Regions from separate parts of the Homo sapiens genome. Here regions 1, 3 and 4 are each linked to region 2. Evidence: promoter capture Hi-C in 16 types of primary human blood cells and fetal thymus (Javierre and others, 2016). All regions are on one chromosome and are shown on one strand. The core of a region is centred on a gene start or on the middle of the fragment in contact, and the rest is flanking DNA. Distances in the headings are between cores, read along the strand shown. Region 1 overlaps JADE3 (jade family PHD finger 3). Region 2 holds the start of RP2 (RP2 activator of ARL3 GTPase). Region 3 overlaps SLC9A7 (solute carrier family 9 member A7). Region 4 overlaps JADE3 (jade family PHD finger 3).

Evidence for each region. The method cuts DNA at HindIII sites, captures the fragments that hold promoters and counts their contacts. A CHiCAGO score of 5 or more calls a contact.
Region 1: a contact is called between a fragment that was not itself captured here and the fragment with the promoter of RP2 in region 2, in 1 of 17 cell types (total B cells). The highest score is 5.4, in total B cells.
Region 3: a fragment that was not itself captured here is called in contact with the fragment with the promoter of RP2 in region 2 in 1 of 17 cell types (monocytes); the score reaches 5.2 in monocytes.
Region 4: a contact is called between a fragment that was not itself captured here and the fragment with the promoter of RP2 in region 2, in 1 of 17 cell types (naive B cells). The highest score is 6.0, in naive B cells.

What each region holds. Positions count from the first base shown.
Region 1 is chrX:47,028,747-47,034,884 of GRCh38, reverse strand. JADE3 (jade family PHD finger 3) reads right to left here. Exons shown (of 11, transcript NM_014735.5): 7 at 1,097-1,264. Among named protein-coding and RNA genes, the nearest start is that of RGN, 47 kb to the left of the region's middle. The HindIII fragment of the contact is 192 bases long and covers 1,391-1,582 here.
Region 2 is chrX:46,835,681-46,841,454 of GRCh38, reverse strand. It overlaps RP2 (RP2 activator of ARL3 GTPase), which reads right to left and starts at 4,412. Exons shown (of 5, transcript NM_006915.3): 1 at 4,253-4,412. The coding sequence starts at 4,354. RefSeq lists an enhancer at 4,281-4,420 and a silencer at 4,731-4,810. The HindIII fragment of the contact is 11,862 bases long and covers 3,182-5,774 here.
Region 3 is chrX:46,627,467-46,633,383 of GRCh38, reverse strand. It overlaps SLC9A7 (solute carrier family 9 member A7), which reads left to right. Exons shown (of 17, transcript NM_001257291.2): 14 at 1,735-1,798. Among named protein-coding and RNA genes, the nearest start is that of CHST7, 57 kb to the right of the region's middle. The HindIII fragment of the contact is 601 bases long and covers 3,341-3,941 here.
Region 4 is chrX:46,977,523-46,984,059 of GRCh38, reverse strand. The region is part of intron 1 of JADE3 (jade family PHD finger 3); the gene reads right to left. Among named protein-coding and RNA genes, the nearest start is that of JADE3, 68 kb to the right of the region's middle. The HindIII fragment of the contact is 1,439 bases long and covers 1,356-2,794 here.

The DNA of each region.
Region 1 (6,138 bases), core at 237-2,736, 200 kb before region 2:
CCCAGCACTTTGGGAGGCCTAGACAGGTGGATCACGTGAGGTCAGGAGATCGAGACCATGCTGGCTAACACGGTGAAACCCCGTCTCTACTAAAAATACCAAAAAAAAAAAAAAAAAATTAGCCAGGCATGGTGGCGGGCACCTGTAGTCCCAGCTACTCGGGAGGCTGAGGCAGAAGAATGGCGTGAACCTGAGAGGTGAAGTTTGCAGTGAGCCGAGATAGCGCCACTGCACTCCAGCCTGGGTGACAGAGCGAGACTCTGTCTCAAAAATAAAATAAAATAAATAAAAATAAAAAAGTAAAGGGCATCATCACAGTAGACAAAGAGTTACTGCTCACTTTATTTGTAATAGCCTAAACCTGTAAACAACCCAAATGCCCATCAAAGGAAAATGAATAAATCAGAGTATATCCATACAATGGAATATTAGCAATAGAAAGGAATAAACTATTGATATACACCACAACATGGAGTGTTAGCCAGACCGAAAAAAATACATACTGTATGAAGTTTAAAACCAGATAAAATTAATCTATCATGATCAAGACAAAAATGGTGGTTATTCTTGGGGGATAGAGACTGGAAAGTGGGTATAGAGGATCTTTCTGGGGTGCTTTATGTCTATTTTTAGGGTATTTCATGTCTTGGTCTGAGTTGTGGTTACAGATACAAACGTGTAAAATATCACAAAACTCTACACTTAAAATTTGGCATCTAAATATAAGTTTTACCTTAAAAAATTCTGCTGCTCACACCCTGGTCTTTTGTGTCTCTCCTCTCATACAAATTTATCAATTTATACATGATATACCCAAATATCATGTATATATTTGGGTATTATCCCAAATATCGTGTATATATTCGGGTATTATCCCAAATACCACTGGGAATACCACCTATATATTAATCACCATGGGCTTACATGCAAGTGTGCATCCAATAAGGATCTGAGGTAGCTCAAGTGGAAGTACTATTACTTCAGAAACATGGGCAAGCATGAAGCATTTCCATACTGAGCCTGAGTCAGTCTGAATGCTGTGGGGAACAGGGACACCCTGGAGCAAATGGTCTCACGGGCCTGGATGAATTCTTACCTCTGGGATCCACAGGGCACAGCTGACATGAGCCCATTTAGTCCCTGTCTTGGTGGTCTTCAGGGCTCCACCTTTCTTTGGACATAACACACATTGCGGATAAATGCCCAGGACACAGGAGCGACACAGCCAGCTGCCTTCTGGGACCTTGAGGATGCCATAGCAGGCCTGGAGGTATGAGGAGGAGAGGGGAGAATGGTCAGCACCTTCTCACCAGGGTTGGTATCTGTTCTGATACACAGTCACAGAGTATCCTCTGCTTTTGGGAGAAAGGCAAATAAAGCCGAACAAGCTTATATCCAGTATCGAGTGATTTAAAAATACTCAAAAAAGCAACTTCCAGCATCTCTCCTAAGATCAGCATGTCTGTCCATGAGAACTGACTTTAAGGATGATAGAACAAGACGAGGAGATACAGCCAACCGTTAACCCAACTGTTATCTGAGTGTTGTGATTACAGCATTTTTTGGTCTGTTTTCTAAAGCTTCTTCAATGACTATGTATTATAATTAGTCAAACACTTATTGAACATTTCCTAAAAGTCATACACTGTTGTGATCAAGAAAAAAGTTTTAGAAAATAAAGAGAATGAAACTTCTGAGGAGCAAATGAACTGACGTTTATAAAAAGCCTATTAACGCCTGGTGCATAAAAAGTACTCAGTAAATCGTAGCAATTGCTTGCTTGGGTTGAAGAAACAGGGACTTGTGAATGAATCTTGAATAGAATATTACACTAATCACAATAATTCATAATGAGTTCTGGAAGGTGCTTCAAATCCTTTATGGAATGAAGTTGGACAAATAATTACTGTGAGAAACTGGAGATTAGTTTGGGAAACATTCTAGACTCCCTTTTTGCTATCCCCAATTTTGCCCATCATTTCCTCCTTACTGCTCTACTCTATTAGAGACTAACTGATTCAATATGGCAGCTTCAAAATTTCTGTCTGCCTCAGGAGATTCACCCTCAACTCAGATTCAAGTTATAACAGTTACCATAATATCGGTCCCCCCACAACCTGGTCCTTTTCCAAGCTCCTTCTTTCCGTGTCACCACCATACTTCCTATCTTCCAGATCCAAATTCCTAGACTTGTATTACTCACTTTCTTTCATCTGCTGACCTGGTACTTGCTATTCTCCCTACAGTGGCCCCAAGACTCTGACGTTCCTCTCCGTCCTCACCACTTGCTCTATCCAAGTTCTCATTATGCCATGCCTGGATTGATTAATTTCTACATTTTCTTTTTCCCCCTGCACGCCTTCAACCCTTCTTCTACTTGACTGCCAGATTCTCCTCACTAAAAGAATTCATACCATTGTACAGTGGCAAGCCCTTTAGATATTCCTTCTGCTCTTACCTGCTCCCCACTATCCAAACTAGGGGTTGGCTATTTTCCAAGGTCTGTTTTATAAAGCCAACAAGCTAAGAATGGTTTTCACATTTTTAAAGGGTTGTAAAGAGAAGAAGAAGAACATGTAACAGAGACTGTATGTGGCTATAAAGACTGAAATATTTACAGCGGATCCTTAAAGAAAAAGTTTGCCGGTTCCTTATCTAAAGCCTGTTGTTCCTTGTACTTCACTATCTGATCTCATGCCCCACTATACCCAAACACAGGGCTTCTGACTTGGACAGGCAGGCCTCCTGGTTTTCTCCATAACTGGTCATTCTTATTTTCACATCCATGTGTCTAAGCAGCTTCCCTGCTCTACATGGTCAACTGTTGTTTGCATAGTTGGACCTTTCTCACCCTTCCAGACCCGGTTCAAACTCCAGGCCCCTCCAAAAATCCTGCTCAGGTCACTGTAGCCCCTTGCGTTTGTCCCACTGCCTGACTCCCATCCTCCACTCCATGCAATTTCCCTCACCAAGTACATAGTCAGCATCATGTGTTCTTTAATTTTATTATTATTTTTTTTGAGACAGGGTCTTGCTCTGTCACCCAGGCTGGAATGCTGTGGCATGATCTTGGCTCACTGTAGCCTCAACCTCCTGGGCTCAAGCAATCGTCCTACCTTAGCCTCCCGAGTACCTAGGAGCACAGGCATGTGCCACTCTGCCCAGCTAATTTTTGTAGAGACGAGGTTTTGCAATACTGCCCAGGCTACTCTCAAAATCCTGGGCTCAAGTGATCCACACTTTGGTCTCCCAAAGTGCTGGAATTACAGGTGTGAGTCACAGCACCCGGCCAGCATCATGTATTCTTTTTCTCTACATTTGCTGTTGTGTTTCTTCTCCTCAGTGACATTTTTAGTATTTTTTTTTCTTTTAATTAACCCTGGCCTACAGAACTCAATGAGATTTTAAAGTCACTAGAGGTAGAGCTGTTATCATCAATTTACCTGGAATGCCCCCTATGCTGAGCTTGAGTAGGTGGTTGGATAAAACAAATGTATTTAGCTCAAGAACTGAAGCTGGACTCTAGGTAGGCTCCTCTCACAAGAGCAAGGCATCATTTTATAAGGTTTCTAACCTTTAAAGCTCTTTGTCTGAGGCCCAGAATGTTTGCTAGGAAATGAAAGCAAGCTTCCTCCCTAAAATAGAGTCTCTTTCAGACTGGCAGAAGAGAGGTCAGGTCAGTGACTGGCTCTTGGAATATCCTTTAGCTCCTGGCCAGTCTATAGGGCAGAACATCATTTACTGAGCCCTTTTGTGGACTTACTCACAGTCATAAGATCATAGATACATGTAAAAGGATTTAGAATGGCCCTAACTTTCACATTTTTTTTTTTTTGAGATGGAGTCTCACTCTGTCGCCCAGGCTGGAGTGCAGTGGCGCAATCTTGGCTCACTGCAATGTCCACCTCCTGGGTTCAAGCAATTCTTCTGCCTCAGCCTCCCGAGCAGCTGGGACTACAGGTGCATGCCACCACACCCAGCTCATTTTTGTATTTTTAATAGAGACGGGGTTTCACCATATTGGCCAGGCTGGTATTGAACTCCTGACCTCGTGATCCACCCGCCTCGGCCTCCCAAAGTGCTGGGATTACAGGCGTGAGCCACCATGCCCGGCCCAACTTTCACATTTTTTAAAGAAAAAATGTTAAATTCATTGTTAAAATCTAAAGGCTACTTATGTACACATCTCTTCTAAAGTACACATAAGTGTATTTTTTGTCACTGAGGAACAAACACTGAAATGTAATATGGTGTCACTAAAGAAGAAAAATCATGTTTAATAAATTCAGATGTCAACATGTCCCCATTCTGTTAGGGAGTAAACCAAATCTTCCAAGGTATTTTAAGTCACTTTTCAGCCAACAGAGGGAGCTCTAAGCCAAGTATCTCTTTAGAATCCAAGTAAATATACTCACTTTGGAAGAATCTCTTATGTGAAACTTTATAGGGTACCAATGTCCCAGCTTTAATACATACCAGTTTACATACTGCAAGGTCTGGTCAGTTATTGCCATCTCATCTCTTTCTATGTGAGAAAGGGGTATCATTTATATTCATTACCGGAATCGTTTTTAAGACTAATAAATAGCATTGGAGATAATTATGCTACATTTGAGTTTGTTAAAGAACCTGAGAATACTTACTATTTTGTCCCAACTGTAAAGGACAAACATAGGAAATATATACAGATGACCTTTATGCTATTCCTTTTAAGCCTACTACAGATCCACAATCATTTATCTGAAACCTCTAGGGTAAGAAAAATTAGGAAATTCAGAATTGCTCAGATCTTAGGAAAGTATATATATATATATAGTATATGACCTAAGCCCCCAGTGGGACCAGGGGCAATACCATATAACCAAACACATTAATAGTTCTCTAACAAAATATATGAGTATTTAAACAAAATGGATAAGGACTACAAATGGCCTCATACTGGGTGGGTTGTGGTATTGTCCTCAAATCAGTTCTGGTGTGAAACTTCAGCAAAAACATGCGTTTTTCAGAACTTTATAATTTTGGAATTGCAGAGAAAGGACTCTGGGCTTGTATTGTGAGATATAATACTTAAGTTCATAGTTAAATGGTAAAGATTTTCTGCTCTCACTTAAAGTCTGATATAAATGCCAATAATTGGTAAAGTGAAGACAAATTTTCAAAATTCACTTTGTTAAAGGTAAATGAAGAAAAAGACCCAATTGGTCACAGAATAATTCTGAGTACCTTTTACATACAGGGTGGTTAGGTTAAGAGGCCCAGGGAATTAAAATAATCTTAAGCCCTGGTTTCTATCTGCTATGTTATCTATTCTAATTACTTTAGTCATTTTGTAGCCAGAATGATCTTTCTAAAATACATATCATATCCTCCAGGGTTGACAGGACAGAACTGAAGTTCCTTAGTTTGTCAGACGGTCCTTTACACACGTCTCTTGTATCCCTCTCTACCCTCACTTTCCATGCCTTCCCTACTCTACTCTGCCACTTTACAGTTTCTGAAGGCTTCAGTTGCCTCTGACATATTTTGCCTGCTTTCACTACCCTGTCTGAACATTTCTCCTCTCTGCCTGAACACACATTGCTGGTTTACTTGACATCTCCTTTTGGACATTAAGATTTAGCTTGGGTGCTACCTCCTGGAAGTTGTCCCTGACCCTCGTTTCTCACAGATGCATTTCCACAGCAGCTTGGACTTATATCTATAAAAACACTTGGCATATGATGCTAAATTGGCAGTTTCCTTATATTTCTTTCACCAGACTATGATCTCCCTGGGGGCACAGACCATGTCTGCCTCTTCATCACTGACTGTGTCCTCAGCATGCATCACAATCCTGGCCCACGGAGTACTGTACCTATTTGCTAGACAAATTAACAAAATGAATGAAATATACAACAGGTTCAGAAGAATGAAAAATCACTTAGGGTAAGGGAGTTCAAGAAAGGATTTGAACTAGACCTTGAAAAATATATAGATTTTTGATAGCTGGGACATAGGAGGAGGCATTTACAAATTGGAGTGTGGCTGAAACATGGGAGATAGGACAGTGTCAGGAATATTCATCACTGCACCTTGAGTAACCTTATTTTGTTGGAACACAGTGCTTGTGGGGGAAAAAATGGAAAGAGCTGAAAG
Region 2 (5,774 bases), core at 3,163-5,662:
TTGATGCCACATTGAGCAGAGTCAACCCTGCTTAACCTTATGCAAATTAAAGAGTTATGAACAAAATATCTGCCATTATTTTAAACCATTAAGTTTTAGGGTGGTTTGGTACACAGCAATGGGTAACTAGAATACTTTTCATACTTAAAAGAAGGCTAAAAACAGTATCTAGCCTCCTCCTACTTAGTGCAGACACTTCTTTCTAGCAGATTACCACCCTAACTGTCTGACAATTTTGACTAACATGGAGATCAGGTCCTCAACGAAGCCACCCCTTCCACTGATGACCAATCCTGGGAATTATGATCTGCCTTATGTTAAAACCAGTTCTGTCATGCCCAACCTCTGGTTTAAGTTCTTTCCTCAGAGGTGACCATTACTGTCTAAACCTCTTCTTCAGGACAGGCCTTTACCTTACTAAACAGTAGAGAAATCTTTAGCATTGTCCTACTATATAGCTGAGGAACCTGAAGTGCACAAATTGGCTGCTTTACCCAAAGTTACACAATAGATACTCGAATTTCTGGTATAAGATTTTTGTTTAGTATTATTTCTATTGAATATGAGACAAATATAACAGACACATGTGTTGTCCTTACTCAAATCACAATTTTCACACTTAAGCCATAATTGTTTAGAGTTAATCCTCATTTCTATTATCTAGGAGGAAAAGTATGGGCATGAATACTGGAAGATGAAAACTACTTTTCCGTATCACTCTTCCTCACCTCATATGTACTTAAATGTTTCCTGTTTTAACTCCAGAAAGCCAGTAAACTCTTTTAGGGCAGGGATAAGTCTTATAATTTTGAGACTTACTTGGTGTTTGAGTACATACATACTGAATAATTTGCCTACCTATGGGTGGCAGCATACAGATAAGGATAAAAACATTTCTTTTGAAATAATTTAAACACAAGTCTTACAATCCAAAAATATTTCTCATCACATCAGTGTAAGAATTGTAATCTTTTTTCTTTTTCAAAGTCAGTAGCAATAGAAAATGAGCTTCTTACACTGTTGACTACAGTATGTCAGTTGCTATGACAATGCTTAGTCCCCAGACATTCCTTCTAAATGAGACAATTTCTCCCAGCTTCAGTCCCCTAAGACTGACCCAATTACACAACTCAAACCCCAAAACCCAAGGGGTGCCCTTCAATAAAGATACTCTGGGCTGGGAGCGGTGGCTCACGCCTGTAATCCCAGCACTTTGGGAGGCTGAGGCAGGTGGATCACCTGAGGTCAGGAGTTCAGGACTAGCCTGGCCAACAAGGTGAAACCCTGTCTCTACTAAAAATATACAAAAATTAGCCAGGCGTGGTGGTGCACGCCTGTAATTCCAGCTACTCAGGAGGCTGAGGCTGGAGAATCGCTTGAACCCAGGAGGCAGAGGTTGCAGTGAGCCGAGATCGCGCCACTGCATTCCAGCCTGGGCGATGACAGAGCCAGACTCCATCTCAAAAAGAAAACATCAAAAAAAGATACTCTGATTACACAACCTAAGGAAAAATGTAAACACCCTTTTCTAAGCTGCAAGGAAATTTTTCAGGCAACCCATTTTGTTTTTACATGTAAAAGTCTTACAAGTTGAATGGTAATTGTCTGATATAACTTTAAAACTGTATATGCTATAATCCATAACCACATTCCAGAAGCCTAAACTTTTAATATAAATCATTTCTATTAATATGCATGCATCATATCTCATTTATGTTCTCTGGGCTGTATTTGCAATCTGTTCCTTTTAAGGTACAACTGAAATCTTCTAGGAGCAAGCAAGGCCATGCTCAGTAAACGTATCATTGGACTAATACAGAACATTTGCACACTAGCCCAAATTAACCTCACGGGAGGCAAGGAACTAGGAAAAAATATTTTATTTATTTATTTTTTTTTTTTGGAAACAGGGTCTCACTCTGTTGCCCAAGCTGGAGGGCAGTGGCCCGATCATGACTCATTGCAGCCTCTAAGTCCCAGGCTCAGGTGATCCTCCCACCTCAGCCTACTGAGTAGCTGGGACTACAGGTGTGCACCACCATGCCCCACTAATTTTTGTATTTTTAGTAGGAATGAGGTTTCGCCATATTGCCCAGGCTGGTCTGGAACTCCTGGGCTCAAGAGAGCCACCAGCCTTGGCCTCCCAAAGTCCTGGGATTACAGGCATGAGTCACCATGCCTGGCCCTAGAAAAAAATATTTTAAATTGTATAAAATTTAACAAGCTATCAAAATGAGGCAACTTAGAAAGAATTCCTAGTAATTCCAAAAGAAAAAAAAACTAAAAAGAAAAAGCTATGTTGGGAAATGTGGTATCTGCATTGTCTCAAAATGTAAGCTGGTAATTCTCTTCAACAGTCCAAAATATTTTAAAACTGGGGTTTTTTTCAGAATGCTCATTTGGTTAGAAATTCTCATTTTGATTGGCTGAGTTGATCAAGATTTTAACTTTTATTATACACACACTCAGAAGCATGAGCTTATTTTATATATCCAATAACATCTCTTACAACTCTACAACTACAGAACTTAGTAGTGTTCTCAAAAAAAAAGGTTCTCTGTAAGCTCAAAACAGTTTCTACAATTGAAAGTTTATTACACACTCATTTGTGGGGAAAAAGCTTAGATGTTGGTGTCCAATGTTATATTTCTCAATGCATTTACTTAGCCAATGGGCAAAAGAAGAAAAAAAATCACAGGACACACACACTTATCTAAAAGAAGGATTAACATGAGAAGTCCTAACTAACCTGAATATTATGTTAATAAACATTAACTGTAAAACAATTTATTGTGAAACGATGAGTCATAGGCAGCCAAGACTACTATAAATAAAAAAGGCATTTTATTTAGTTTAGATTTAGCCTGAGTTCAAAAGAAAAAACTAAAATAAAAATGAAATATGCAACTTTCTCTAAGGCAGACAATTCAAGCTAAAAGAACATTGTTAGAAAGCCAAAGGCTGAGGAAAACAATATCTTTTAAAAACCGCCCATCAGATAACTTTAAATGGCAGGTGCAATCTTCTTGTGAAATAGAAAGCATAGTACTTTCTTCCCCTACATTATAAAATGCTACTATCGAGTATGACTAACAGAGAATAAAGGTACCATGTGACCCAAGAAGGGTGTGTATGAGAAGTAGGGGCAGAAAGACGGGGCTGAGAAAAGCTGCAAAAAGCTTTCAATTTCCTAACTCTGACTCTTAGAGACCAGAGCTTACCTGAATACATTCTGCTGGGGATTGGAAATCATGCAGAAAGGTCTGTGATTCCAAAACGTTAATACATTTATTATAAAGTAATCTTGGGTAAAGATATGTTGCCTTAAGCAAAGAGTTAACTGTTCATAATACCCATTTGAAAAATCTCTCATTTTGTTTGGGAGAAATAATTGATAAGTCCATCAAAGTAGTTTAGTAAGCACAAATGGAGAACTATGTAGAAAGAGGAACTATTATGAAATGTATGACCGAGTGTGTTTTGTGTAAGACTAATGGAGGTTTTCAAAGGTTTTTCGTTTCTGGCTATATACAAAAATAAAAATAAGGGCGTTTTCATTCATTTAAACCAGCAGTAAAATACTGCCTGGTTTATGCCGCTTATTTTCACCTTACAGTCTTAATACACATTCCAAGACTGATGCGATATTCATTATTTCTTTCGGATAACTGGAAGAGGAGGGGGAGTAAAGCTGTACATTAAACAGTCCACTTGGTAATTGAGAAAATTCAGCAGTGAAATATATCATGAGGCACCAAAGAGATTTGCCGGGGAGGGCAGACAAAAGAGAAAACAGCCACAGAACATTAAGCCCCGGAAGAGATGAGAATCGGTCCCATATACGTAACTCGACGACTGGACAAAACCCCGCTTGACGCTGCCGGTGGGTGAAACGAGGTGATTTGAGATTCAGGGCGTTCTCGGCTCTTTCCCTCTCTCGAATCGATCATCTCCAACAGGAAGTCAGAGCAAGGCAGGGTTCGGAGTCAGAGAAAGCTCCCGGGGGAGTCTGTCTACCACGACAACAAACTCCTAAGGCTCCTTCCGGAGCTCCACAGCCCTCTGGGCGGCCTCTCTAGCGCTGTACTTCACGTCCCCGCTCCCCAAAAAAGTCGTGCACCCCGACTTCAGCTATCCGCGTTCAAGAGAGTGCGGCAGCAGTTGGGTCGGCCCCCTCAGCGGTCCCGGGCCGTAAGGGACCTGGCGGAGCGGCTCAGGGAGGCTGAGACGGCGGCTACACGACTTTCATTACCTTCTCGCGCTGATCCCAGCTGTACTGCTTTGGCCGCTCCTCCTCGTTCTCGGGCCGCGACTCCTTGTCAGCCTTCCGTCTCTTGGAGAAGAAGCAGCCCATGGTCCCAGCCCGCGGAGCTCGTTGGCCAGCTCACTAGCTCAGGCACTTCCTAGAGTGTGGCGTGAACCCTGGGAACCCCGGCCTCGCAGCTCTCCGGACAACGCCCCGCGGAACCGCCCAACGGTCCGCAGCCTTAGTTTGCCCGCCAGGCCCAGCACCCCTTCCCCTTTTTCGTCGCCCTGACGACCCAGCGCAGCCAATGAACGCTCAGCGCCTGTTGAGCCAATCAAAGCCTCTCGAGCAATCCTGCGCGGCCTATGAAGAGAGGCCGACATACCCACATACCAATCCACGCCTGGCTCCTGCGACAGCCCCTGGCGGCGGGGCGGGCCGGCTCTGGCGCAAGCACGGACAACCCCGCCCACAGCTGTGGCACGGACCGCCCTCGGCCCCGCCCCTCCTGGAACTTGGTGGGTTCTCTAGCTGGTGGGAGGCCAGGCTCGGTATCCGGGTTTTTTTTGCCCCTGATTCATAAATTTGCAAGTTCAAGGCGCGGGAGAGATCTCTAGTTGAACATTAGATTTATCTTATGATGAAAGTTGTGAGGGACAGAAATTCCCGCTGACACAAGAAGACCCTGAAATTTGTATTTCTAAATCCTCTTCTCCCCTCATCACCCTTCCTACCGCCCTCTCATCGCCTGGCCAGGGTCACCCCCTCAAGAATTGTACCCCATAACCTCCCAATCCTCTTCTGTGCTCTTTCTTTCTTTCTTTCTTTCTTTCTTTCTTTCTTTCTTTCTTTCTTTCTTTCTTTCTTTCTTTTTCTTTCACAGGGTCTCGCTATGTCACTCAGGCTGCAGTGGCACAATCATAACTCACTGCAACCTTGCAACTTTGCAACCTTGACTTCCTGGGCTCAAGCGATCCTCCTGCCTCAGCCTCCTTCCTGAGTAGCTGGAACTACAAGCAAGCACCACCATGCCCACCTATTTTTTTTTTTTTTTACTTTTGTAGAAATGGGGTCTTGCTATGTCGCCCAGGCTGGTCTTGAACTCCTGGGCCCAAGCGATCATCCTGCCTCAGCCTCTCAAGGTGCTGGGATTACAGGCAGGACCCACCGCACCCCAGGCTGCTTCTGTGTTTTCTTAAGACTTTCACATATGGCTCTAAAATTGCACAAGTACTTAGTAAAATAGTTAATTGTGTATTGTTTCCCTATTTGAACTGTGACTTTCTTGAGATCAAAAAGGTATATCTTTTTTTTTTTTTTTTTTTTTTGATGGAGTTTTTGCTCTTGTCGCCCAGGCTGGAGTGCAGCAGTGCCATCTCGGCTCACTGCAACCTCCGCCTCCCGGGTTCAAGTGATTATCCTGCCTCAGCCTCCAGAGTAGCTGGGACTGCAGGCGCCTGCCACTACGCCCGGCTAATTTTTGTATTTTTAGTAGAGACGGGGTTTCACCATGTTGGGCAGGCTGGTC
Region 3 (5,917 bases), core at 2,392-4,891, 210 kb after region 2:
TGTTTTTTTTTTTTTTTTTTTTTTTTTTTTTTTTTTTTTTTTTTTTTAGCAGCAGCAAGCTGAGAAGCAGCTCTTTGTTTCCTTTCTTAGAAATCTCCTGTTCTGCACTTATATCAGTAGCAAGGCCCTCCAAGAGACCCCAAGGGCCTTCCCACACTCCTCTGTCTGTGGCAGGGCCCAGGAGGTTCTTTTAGACTCTCTGCTGTCAGGAGTTTGGGCTGCATTTCATACTTGGTTGATATCAAGTGGCTGCCGTGAAGGTCGGAACTTCCATGGCAGATATAGGATTTTCCTGGCATCTTTTTTCTTTCCCCCATTGCCCAGTGTTATCCATGTCATCCATGGCACAGTATCCTGCCTCAGAATGAGGAAGGTGCAAGGATAAAAAAAAAAATTGCCAGATGCATAGAGTGCCAGTTAGTATGTTTCTAAGCCAAGACAACTGCCCTGGTGCTTTTATAGTATTTGTTATAAATGAGTCCTGCCATTTTGCTTTTTCTTTCTGTCTTTAGTTGTTGCTCTCAAATGTGTGAGTTCTCAAGGCTATCTTGATGCAAGAGGGTATAGGGGCACCAGGATTGAAAGCAGGTCAGGACTCTAATTAATGATATTGTTAAAGAAAACATTATTCTGATGTATATTTAAACAGTAAGGCAGACGTTGTTCAGGACCATCACGATTGGAATAGGGACCACTGTGATGGGGTTTTGCAGCAGGGGAGAGAAACGGGTCAGTGGATAGGGAAGTACTGAGAGGAAATATCAGGGGCAAGGGGGATTCTGGCTAAACTGACCCAATAGGATTCTTGCTGAAGACAGGCGAAGGGGATTAGACACCACCTGAGGGATTGTGGGGGGATGAAGAATCCAATCAGATGTTGGGGATAGGCCATTCAGATGTTGGGCTGTGGCCAAACCAACTTAGACAATCAGACATCACCTGAGGGATTGTGGGGGGATGAAGAACCCAATCAGATGTTCGGTTCTGGCCAAACCAACTTAGCAAACCTCTTGCTAAAATTGGGCTATGCTGAGATGGACATGGAAGCCCAAAAGTCAGTGCCTAGTTGGGAAGTGAATTCCTAGGAGCCTGACTAAAGTTTGGTCAAGGAGAGACTCTTTGTCAATATGCACGTGAAGTATTTAGGGGAAGTATTCTGATGTCTGCAACTTTATCTGAATGTATCCAAAGAAAAAGTAAGATGGGTGATAGAGAAATGGATAGATAGGTAATAAGGAATATACAGTAAAATGTTAATGGTAGAGTCTAGTGATGGTGGGTATATAGGGGTTCACTCTAAAGTCTTTCAACATCTCCCTGTATATTTGAAAAAGTTTATAACAGAATGTTAGAGAAATTAAAGCAGGCCAGGGCAGAAGTGAGGAAGCAGCACAAAGGAAGGGCCCAGTGCAGTGAGACCCCCATTTTGATAACTGGGACCACCTGGTGCAGAAAAGCAAGTGGACAGTTGCCAGCATGTGTTGTGTTCCGGCGGCCTTGCTTAGAGTGTGAGCACATGGGATTCATCGCCCCTCTGACCCTCTGGGATCTGAAGTGGTATGCGACCTCTTTCTTATGACTTCTGCATGACAGCTTTCCTCACCTTTTAGCTAACCACTCCTTATGCTTCGGGAAGATGATTAGCCTCCAGGCTACTTGCAGCCTGCATGGCTACCATGGGCCAAGCTAATACGCTCTGTTTTTCTCTTTGTCTTTCTCCCTGGTGACTTTCAGAGTTGGTGTTGACCCCGATCAAGACCCACCACCCAACAACGACAGCTTTCAAGTCTTACAAGGGGTAAGTCACAAGAGATGCTTCTTCCTGGGGAAGACATTTGAGCATTCGCCACATGCCAGGCACTTTACCTAGATTCCCTCAATGTGATCCTGACAACAGCCTTATGAAGCGTGTACTGCTCTCCCCATTTTACAGATTAAAAGTTGAAGTTTGGGAGTTTGAGTCATCTCAGAATAAGTGATGGAGCCAGGATTTGTCCCCAGGGTATGTGTTCTTAATCAACATTATGAAGGGTGTGGGCTCGCCAGAAAGAGTCCCTGACTCTCCACTTTTCAATAGTGGATATTGGTTCTACAACTGGTTCCGAGTCTATCAGTGGTGCCCAGGAGAAAGAGAGCAATACGATTTGACTCTCCAGCCCAGGGATCTGAGGAAGAAAGGAGAGACATCAGGTGCCTGAAGGCATTCCTGTTTCTCCAGGGCCTGGGATCCTCTAGGTGAGCAATTTGGAAAGGGCATAGCAGGGACGGCTTGCCTTTTCTCCATGAAGTCCACGGCCCCAGGTGGGAAAACCAGGAGCCTGGGGCTGGAATCATGCAAAGGTTCATTTACTCATATGTCTGGCACCTGGGCTGGAAGGACCCAACCACAAGGACTTCTGACAGGAATGTCTGTGCAGGGCTTTTCCATGTGGCCTGAGCTGCCTGCCAGCATGGTGGCTGCTGGGTAGTTGGATTTCTTATGTGATGGCTTAAGGTTCCAAAAGCAAGTGTCCCAGCAAGCAAGGTAGAGGCTATATCACCTTTTCTGACCTAATCTTGCAAGTTCTACAGCATCACTTCCGTGGCTTTCTATTGCTTAGAAATGCATTCCTAAGACCAGCCCAGACCCAATGGGAGGGGATAGAGACCATAACCTCTGGATGGGAAGAGTATCAACAAATTTACAGACAAGAATTGAGGTTGCCATATCATCCCTGTTGTGCAGCTGTCGGGATGATTTTGTCTCTAGGTCTGGCTCTTTATCCAGGTCAGCATGACCTGGGCAGGCAAGGTGGGGAAAGGAGAGTTATGATAGGGGCAGAAATGTGTTACCAATATATTATTTGACCTTGGGAGTCAATAACTATGTCGTTCAGCATTGAATGCCCAGTGCTGAGCACAGTGGCTGGCACATGCAGGAACCTGATAGGTGTTTGTTGGGTGGATGAGGGAATGAGAGAGATGCAGCATGCAACAGGCAGCTTTACTGACCACCTGTGTATGTTGTCCATGAAACCCTATTCTTTTTTTTCCAGTCAGCTTTGAATCTGACTCATCATTGCACTTAATCCTGCAGCAGTCTGCAGCAGACTTCACATTCCATAGGATCTTCTAAATGATTCCATCTACCAAATCAGATTTAATAAGGCTGGCAAAATGTGGTGCTGTGTGGGGTCAATGGGGTGCCACTGTGGCCTTTTGTGGTTTCTTTCTCTTTAAGGGTGGCCACAGCCTGATAAGGCATTTATAGCATTGATGTCCATTCTAGGTCCCTGCTCAAGGGACACAAAGCCATGACCTGGAAAGTTCTGGACATTTTGGGAAGAGTTTTCAATAAGCTTCATTGGAGATTTGGCACCCACTTTAATGAGCTCCAGAAGACCTTTGAGATGATCTTAGAATTGGCCATTATGTCAGTTGGGAGCATGTGGTCTCAGTGAGTTCTCTTTGAAAATTTGCTATTTGACTCTAGCTTTGATTAAGGACTTTAGAAAACAGGAGTTCAGGAACTGAGCACCTCGAGGCTAATTTAGAGTATAACAGTTTGGGAGATCTTGAAACTCAGCCTGAGAAAACCCCAGGGGAAAACATGATGGCCGTCCTTATTTCACCAAAGGAAAGATAATGGCTCTGGTAGGACATGGCTGCCCTATTCTAAAGCATCCTCCACAGAACTGTGGCCAGTCTAGATTAATTTTGTAAGAAAAAAAGGCCAATAGCAGCTGGATCATAAGATTTGGAGAGATTTCATCTTGCTCTGGACCATTCAAAACATCCCCACCCCCTTTGCTGTTTCCCATTGCTCCTACCTCTGCATTCAAGCATCTGTAACAGGAAATAAGTGAAAGGATTTGGCTGGTCATGTAGTAGAACTTACTATGTATCACATGAGCCCTGCGCACTGGGAACACTGGGCTTGTAATTAGATTCAGTAACAAGCTTACTGTCACTTTTCTGTGGAAATGTTTGAGTGAGAAAGCAGCAGGTCCAAAGTGCTGAGGGTTCTTGTATTTAGTCCATGCAGTAACAGCTAAAATAGCCCCCACCCCCAGGTGGAGTGAGTCTCAGGAACCTCCCTGGATGGGCCTGGATGGATGAACTCAGTGTTCCTGTCAGCTCCCAGAGGGCCCCTTGGGCTGAGAGCACCGCACATGTGGTGTTGTGAACGGGCTGGCAGCCACTCGCGCTGCACTCCTAATGGCACCCTGTTTGCCACAGCCCTAGCCAGAAGCTGTGTCACAGCTTCCCCCTGACCTCCTTCCTTCCAGACCTCATACACAGTCATGCAGAGGGCCCCTCAAAGTCAGTTCCACTGACCTTTTGAAAGGTTTTCAAGATTGCTGTCATATGGGGAAAAACATGCAAACTTCAAGCTTGGTTCTCCAGGACACCCTCTTAGAAATGACTCACGCCCTTGTGCAGAGAGGACCTTATTTCTCCAGTTCCTCCTGGTCTGACCTCCTCATTCTAGTGAGCCACTAACAGCAGGGCTCAGTGCACTCTGTGGCCATGAGAAACAGGAAAACAGAAATAAATGGGCTTCTCATTTTTGGGTGAAACCCTGGGTTCTTGCAGTTTCCCCTGAAATAGATCCAGGTCACATGCTCAGTGTTGTCATGAAACTGAAATCAGAGGTAGGGAAAGTCCAGATGTTTGTTCTCCACCAGAGAAAAAAAAGGGCGGTTCTCTTTACCTCATTTTCTAAATAATCTTCCTAAAAACAACAAACAAAAAAGTGACATTTGATGGGAAGGCATGTCTTATAATGAGCACAATTCTCCTCACTGGTCTTGAAGCCCAAGGCTATAAACAGAGTCATGGCTAGGGAGCTACAGAATATTAGCTCATGTGGGAAAAGGAAGGGAGCTGTTGGCTAGAACTTTGCTTCATGTGGGGAAAGCATAAAAATATTGTGGGCAGACTTCAGCTTTGTGTCCCCTGGTAAGTTTGACTCATTAGAACAAAACAAGACAAAAAAAACAAAAAACAAAAAACAAAACTCAGTGCTTTGTTTCTCTGGAGGTCTTGGTGACTTTGCAACCAAAACAAAAACAACCCTAGCTGGAGGCAAGCTGCCCAGCCCTGGGGGTGGCCTCCCACCCCGATAAAGCAGGGGACTTTTCATGCCAGACCAGACAGCTGAGATTTCTGTTGGCCGTACATGCAGACACATCATTCACTTCCTTCCCTGAGTTTACAGAAGAGCACTCATTGATGAGGCCACTTTGGAGCAGCTAAGAGTGTGAATCTGAATTTATCCCAGTTTCACCATATCAACAGGACAAGGTCACAAGCCGGATATTAATGGAGTGTGGAGGAAAGGAAACCACCAATGCCTGTGTATATGCACACGTGTGTGCGTGTCTGTCTGTGTGTATGTAGTGAAAACTGTAGAAAATCAGCAGTTTATTGTTGCGTTCACATATGACTTTCTGAGCAAGTTAGAATCATTTGTTTCTGGGTCCTCCGTGTTTTTTTTTGTTTGTTTTTGTTTCTCCAGGCTGAAATCTGATACCCGTAAATCTGTCACCTAAATCTTTAACTTCAAACAGTTGCAGAGGTGCCTTTCCTCCAGTTGCTACTCTGTGACCACCGCCCCCCCCCCAACCCGCCCATTTTTTTGTGCTTCCAAGTGCCTCCCTTGGCCCCTGATTTCCCTTTCTGCTCTTCCTTTTCTGTTTTCTAAAAACTCAGAGTCAAGATCAATTTATTCATTTATTTGACAAATAGTTATTGAGCACCTGTTCTATTTCAGGCATTCTTTCAGGTTCTGGGAAAATATCTGCAACAAGGTAGATGAATCTGCATCCTGAAGGGCTTGGTGACAAGGTGATAAAGGGTGAGGGTGGAGAGTGGCAGAAGCAAGAGAGTGGAGACACTCAGGCCTCACCAGCCCCACTGAAGCAGAATCTGCATT
Region 4 (6,537 bases), core at 826-3,325, 140 kb before region 2:
TGTGCCACAACATACAACATGCTACCAGGGGCTATCATGATTCCATAATGAATAAAGGTCAGGGCTACTGCCTTCAAGCTATTTACAATCTACTGAGGAGGTAGAAATCCAAATACAAGGCCACTCTGAGCAATTAAGAATAGCAGCAACAAAATTTTACATTAAAAAGCTCACAGAGTTCCACTTCTGGCATAACAGTGTGAGCAGCTCCATGGACGACCCTCTTCCCAGCAAAATTGGTGAAAGTTATTTCAATTAAAAAAAAACCAACCATTTAAAGTCTCTGGAAATGGTTTTAAGGGCATACAGCAAATGAAGTACTTATTCGAGAAAATCTACTAAAATTCATAAAGTAAAGTCAAAGTCTGCAGTATTTGGATCTAGAACCACTTCCTCCATCTTCCCTCCCAGCAAAGATCTCATGCCAGAGTACAGTAGCCAAGAACACAGGGTTCCTTCTACCCCAGCTCCAAGCTCCTTTCTTCCTGGGAAGAACAGGATGTCGGCATCTCTTATCCCGTTCCCAGCTACTTTTGCTGAGGCTACGTTCCAGGAGAATGTGGCTGAGAGGTGGGGGCTCCCTTCTTCCACCTAGCCCCCAACTCATGGGATGGAGGCTATGCCTTGGGTGTTGTGCCACCAAGAATACCAGAGCCTTGATTGCTCTGGCGTTACCTTGTGGGGTGGGGGTTCTATACCAGAAGAGGCAAACCTGGGAGACCTGGGGCTGACACTCAGAGGGAAGCTCACCATTTATCTCCATCCACTGCGCCAGAGCTGTGGCTCAAAGATTTTTCCCAGGGAGAGAGGCAGGGCATAGAATAGGGGGCTTCAATTCTCCTGCAATGAAACTGACTTCATTTGCAACTGAGTGTACAGAAGTTCAAGCCTAGGCTGCCTAATATGCCAGAGAGAACCAGAGAAAGAGACAGCAGGGAAAGAGCCTCTTGCGGTCAGAAGAAATCTCAAACACAGATCTCAGGAACTATCTTCAAAGGAGCCCTAATTTGATTGGATCAGTTTGTGGAGCAATTTATATTCCAGGACATGATTAAAACAACAGAGCAGCTGGGAATGGTGGCAGGCGCCTGTAATCTCAGCTACTCGGGAGGCTGAGTCAGGAGAACTGCTTGAACCCGGGAGGTGGAGGTTGCAGTGAGCTGAGATCGCGCCACTGCACTCCAGCCTGGGCGACAAGAGTGAAACTCCATCTCAAAAAAACAAAAACAAAACAAGAGCAACCAGTCAACAATTAGTAGACCATAACAGCATGGTGTGGTCAAGTAAAGAGACAGCCAAGGAGAGCCTCACCAAACCCACTGTCATCCCAGGGTGACTGTGGGCATACACAAGCTTGTACCCCCGAAGAGCAACATTAGAGGCTTCATACTGCAGGGTGAGAATGGGGGTTGAGGAAATAGACTTCAATAAAATAATCCAGGCAGTTACTAAAGCAGTAAACAAGCAAATAATAATAAAGAACCCTGGTGGAGGGGTAGTACCCACAATTGTTACAATATATTATCCAAAATGCCCAGTTTCCAACAAAAACTTAAGAGATATGCAAAGAAACAGGAAAGTATGACCCATACAACCACATGTCAGATTTAACAGGCAAAACCTTCAAATTAGCCATATAAATATGTTCGAAGAACTAAAGAAAACCATGATTAAAGAAGTAAAGGAAGGTATGATGACAATATTTTACAAAACAGAGACTATCAATAAAGAAATAGGAAGTATAAAAAATAACCAAATAGAAATTCTGGTGATGAAAGCACAATTGAAATGAAAAATTCACTGAAGGGCCTCAACAGTAGATTGAACAAGCAGAAAAAAGAATTAATGAACTTGAAGTAGGTCAACAGTGATTAGGCAAGTTGAAGAACAGATGGAAAAAAGAAGAAGAAACAGCCTCAGAGAAATGTAGAACATCATTAAGTTCATCAACATATACATAATGGGAGTACCAAAAGGAAAAGTGAATGAGAAAGGAGCAGAAAAAATATTAGAAAAACTCCCCAAATTTACTGAAAAACATTAATTTACATATTCAGGAAACTCAAAGAACTCCAAGTAGGATAAATGCAAAGAGATCCAGAAAGAGATTCCTCATAGTAAAATTACTGAAAGCCAAAGACAAGGAGAAAATCTTGAAAGCAGCCCGGGAAAAAAAACAACTCATCACTTACAAGAGAACTCCAATAAAATTAACAGCTAATTTCTCAGAAACAAAATTAGAAGACAGTGTGAAAACATATTGTGTCCTTTGGTGATTGGTTGCACATATCTGTGAATATATTAAAATAACTGAATTGTATACTTTAAGTGGGTAAGCTGCATGGTATACAAATTATATCTCAAAGCTGTCATTTAAAAAACTAATAAAATTAGTACAAGAATCAGAACCATTAACTAAGGTTCTGTTTGTCCTACAGTCAAAGTCAATTGAATATTTTTAAAAAAGAGCCTCCCATCACATAAATTTTTGGGGCTACATTTGGCTCTCTGGTGCAAAATTTCATTCAAATCTCTTCTGAAACGCAAACAAAACCAACAGTAACAACAAGACACTTCCTATTAAAAAGTAGTAGTGGGGAATTTAAAGTCACAATGAATGTAGAAATTTAAGCAGAAATAAAAGTAATACATTTTCTAACTATTCCCCACTGAATGCACAGATCTACTTAGAGTAGCACTTCATTTATCTGATATCATGGGGATGTTGCATATATAAAAATTGTTCAGATACACAGTATACCCAAATGTATAAAATCCTATTTTAATAGAAGCTTTTCTAAAACACCTATTAGTTTTCTAACGTTACAGTAACAAATTATCACAAACTCAGTGGCTTAAAACTACATAAATTTACTATCTTATAGTTTAGTGGGTCAGGATTTTGACACAGGTCTCACAGAGCTAAAATCAAGATGTCATCAGGACTGCGTTCCTTTCTAGAGGCTACAGGGGAGAACTCATTTCCTTGCCTATTACAGCTTTTAGAGGACACTCTTACTCCCTTGATCTTGGCTGTCTTCTTCCATCTTCAAGGCAAACAACACTGAATCTCTCTGATCCTGTTTCTGTCATCGCATCTCATTCTCTGACCCTTCTGTTCTGCTTCCCTCTTCCACTTTTAAGAACCCATGTAATTACATTGGACCCACCCAGATAATCCAGGATAATGTCCCTATTTTATAGTCAGCTAAATAGCAATCTTAACATATTCATAGGTTGCAGAGATTAGGACACGGACATCTCTGCCTACCACAACCTAATATACAAAATGTAACTCAAAATGGATCACAGACTTAAATGAAAAATGTAAAATTATAAAATATTTACAAAAAGCATAAGAGAAAGTCTTCAGGATCTAGGGCTAAGCAAAGAGTTCTCAGACTTGATACCTAAAGCATGATTGGCAAAGAAAAATGTGTTTTCATCAAAATTAAAGACTTTTGCTCTCAGAAGCATATCCAGGGCAACTTGAATCTATGCTGCTGGGTTGTGGTCTTCAAACTTGGCCCAAATAAACTATCTACTTATATTTTTAAAAAAACTTCTGCTCTGAGAAAGCCCCTGTTAAGAAGACGCAAAAGCAAGCAGAATGGGACAGAATATTTACACATATTACACACACGTGTAATATCAAATGCTGGAGAAGATGTGAAGAAACTATCACTCATACATTGCTGGTGGGAATGTAAAAAGGAATCGCTATTCTAGAAAATATTTTGGTCATTTCTTAGAAATATTATACATGTAATATTTATTATAAAACACATATCTGACAATGAACTTATATTACAGAATGCATAAGGAACTCTAAAAATTCAACAGTAAGGAAACAAATGACCTAATTAAAAATCAAGAGATGGGCCGGGCATGGTGGCTCGCACCTGTAATCCCAGCACTTTGGGAGGCTAAGGCGGACGGATCATTTGAGGTCAGGAGTTCGAGACCAGCCTGGCCAACATGGTGAAACCCCGTCTGTACTAAAAATACAAAAATTAGCTGGGTGTGGTGGCATGCACCTGTAATCCCAGCTACTCGGGAGGCTGAGGCATGAGAATTGCTTGAACCTGGGAGGCGGAGGTTGCAGTGAGCCTAGATTGCATCACTGTACTCCAGCCTGGGTGACAGCGAGACTCTGTCTCAAAAAAAAAAAAAAAAAAAAAAAAAATCAGCAGACATTTTACCAAAGAGGAACGCAAATGGCATTTAAGCCCGTGAAAAGACATTCAGTATCACCAGCCATTAGGGAAATGCCAGTTAAAACCACAAGATATTATTACATACTTATTATTACAATAGCTGAAATAAAGAAATAGTGAAAATATCAAATCATGGAGAAAGTGTAGAGAAACTATATCACTCGTACATGGCTTGTGGGAATGTAAAATAGTATAGCTATTCTAGAAAATATTTCGGTCATTTCTTTAAAAATTAAATATGCAACTATGACTCAGCAATTGCACTCCTGGGCATTTATCCCAGAGAAATGAAAGTTTATGTTCCCACTGAATATAACCTCCATATGGATGACTCATGATGGGATCAAGGGCAACAAATGTCATAGAAAAAACAGTTTTATTCTCTAAAAATCTCAGTGAAGAAAGCCAACTGACCATGGACCCTCTCTCCTCACCTCCCTGAGAGTTTCAGAAGACCTAAGACTTCTTGTGAGATGGATACTCCTCTCATCTGAAGTTCTGGGTATGTGTACTTTGGATAAAACAGTTTCTCCATTTTCTATAATATTCTGTTCTTTAAGTAAAAGAGTTATCAAACTGTTCTTGACAGAGGGAGATTTTAAAGAATAGGCAAAATTTGGCATTTTTAAAACAATTACAGTAACAACTATTTTTTATTATAGATGGAAACAAAAAATCTTGTATTATCAGTAAAAAGCCTAGGAAACAGATTATCTAATACGAGTTACACCAGTCCTGGGAAATAAGAAAATGAGTCATCAATGACTTTTAGAAAAGAAAACAAAGCAAGTTAATTTTTGGGTATGGGCTGTTTAAAGTCCAGTGATTTGTCTGTCCATTTCTGTGACATACTGCTGTTTTAATTATTGTAGGAAAATGACAGAAAACAATAAATATCAGCAGAATAATTCAATGATGGTAAATCTTTATATCTCTATTTATTATTTCTAAGCACAACAACAGTCCTACACATAGCAGCAGCAGCCATTTTACAGATGAGGAAATTGGGGCTCAGAAGCATTAAAGCGACATGCTTAGAGCAACATGGCCACCAGGGGGCAGTCAGGTACATTGACAATGAGCACTCCAAGTTGATCCAGAAGCCAGAGGACAGGCTGGAGGGATGACAGCAAGAATGGTGCCCCTTCTAAGCCCAATCTCCTCAGCATGGCTTGCGAGGCCCAGTTCTGGCTCCCAGTCTCTCAGGCCTCATCAACTGCTGTTCCCCCCAATCCACTCCAATTGTTTGGCATATACTATGCCCCATGTGATTCCGGGAACACGTTCGTCTTGTTTCATACTTGCTTGCCAGCCTTTGCACAGGGCTCTTCCTTCTACCTACAATTCCTCCCCATGTTTTCCTTGACCAGCCCATTTTCCCCAACCCTGGTTCTATTCATTCATTGGATGTCCTCGATGAAGCTTCCCAGACGTCCCTCCCCCACAATTATTCACTCCTTTGCTTTCCATCCAAGTACATGCAAAGAAGCACCTCACTTGCACCATCAATATTCTTTACATCAAGCTTGTCCAACCCGCAGCCTGCATGTGGCACAGGACGGCTGTGAATGCCACCAAACACACATTCATAAACTTTCTTTAAACACTGAGATTTTTTTTGTGATTCTTTAAAGCTCATCAGCTATCGTTAGGTGTTAGTGCATTTTATGTGTGACCCAAGAGAATTCTTCCAATGTGGCCTAGGGCAGCCAAAAGATTGGACACTGCTGCTTTACATGGTCAGCCCTGTTGTCACTAGACCACAAGCATCTTGAAAGCAGGGACTGTGTCACATTCATTTTTTACCCCTAGCTCTTAGCACAGTATCCTGCACAAAATAAACAGGCAAAGGAATAACACACTGTGCTGCCCCCACCCAATCCTGTTTACCTAGCTAGCATACTGTACCCATTTTCCAGCTACTTCTTGTTGGCTGCTAATGGCTCACAATGGCCCCTCTCTTCCCAAGAACTGGGGATTACACTCTTCCAGTCTCCCTCCCAGAGGCAGCCTGCAGTCAATAATTGTTCTGCCATCACCTCAAACAGGCTATGGCTAGATTTTCTTAAGACCCTAACTGGCTGCTCCTTCCTTACCCGGTTACCCTCTTCCCCTTACAGGTTTCTCCTGAGAACACTCCTCAATAAATCATGTGCATTTGAATACTGTCTCAGGTTCTGCTTCTAGGCACCCCTACTTAACATGTGAATCCTTATTAAGTGGTAATTTTAAGAATGTACTACTTAATTTAAGGTAAGTCCTAGAGATCTTTTGTACAGCAGAGTGCTATAGTTAACAATACTATATTGTATACCTAAAA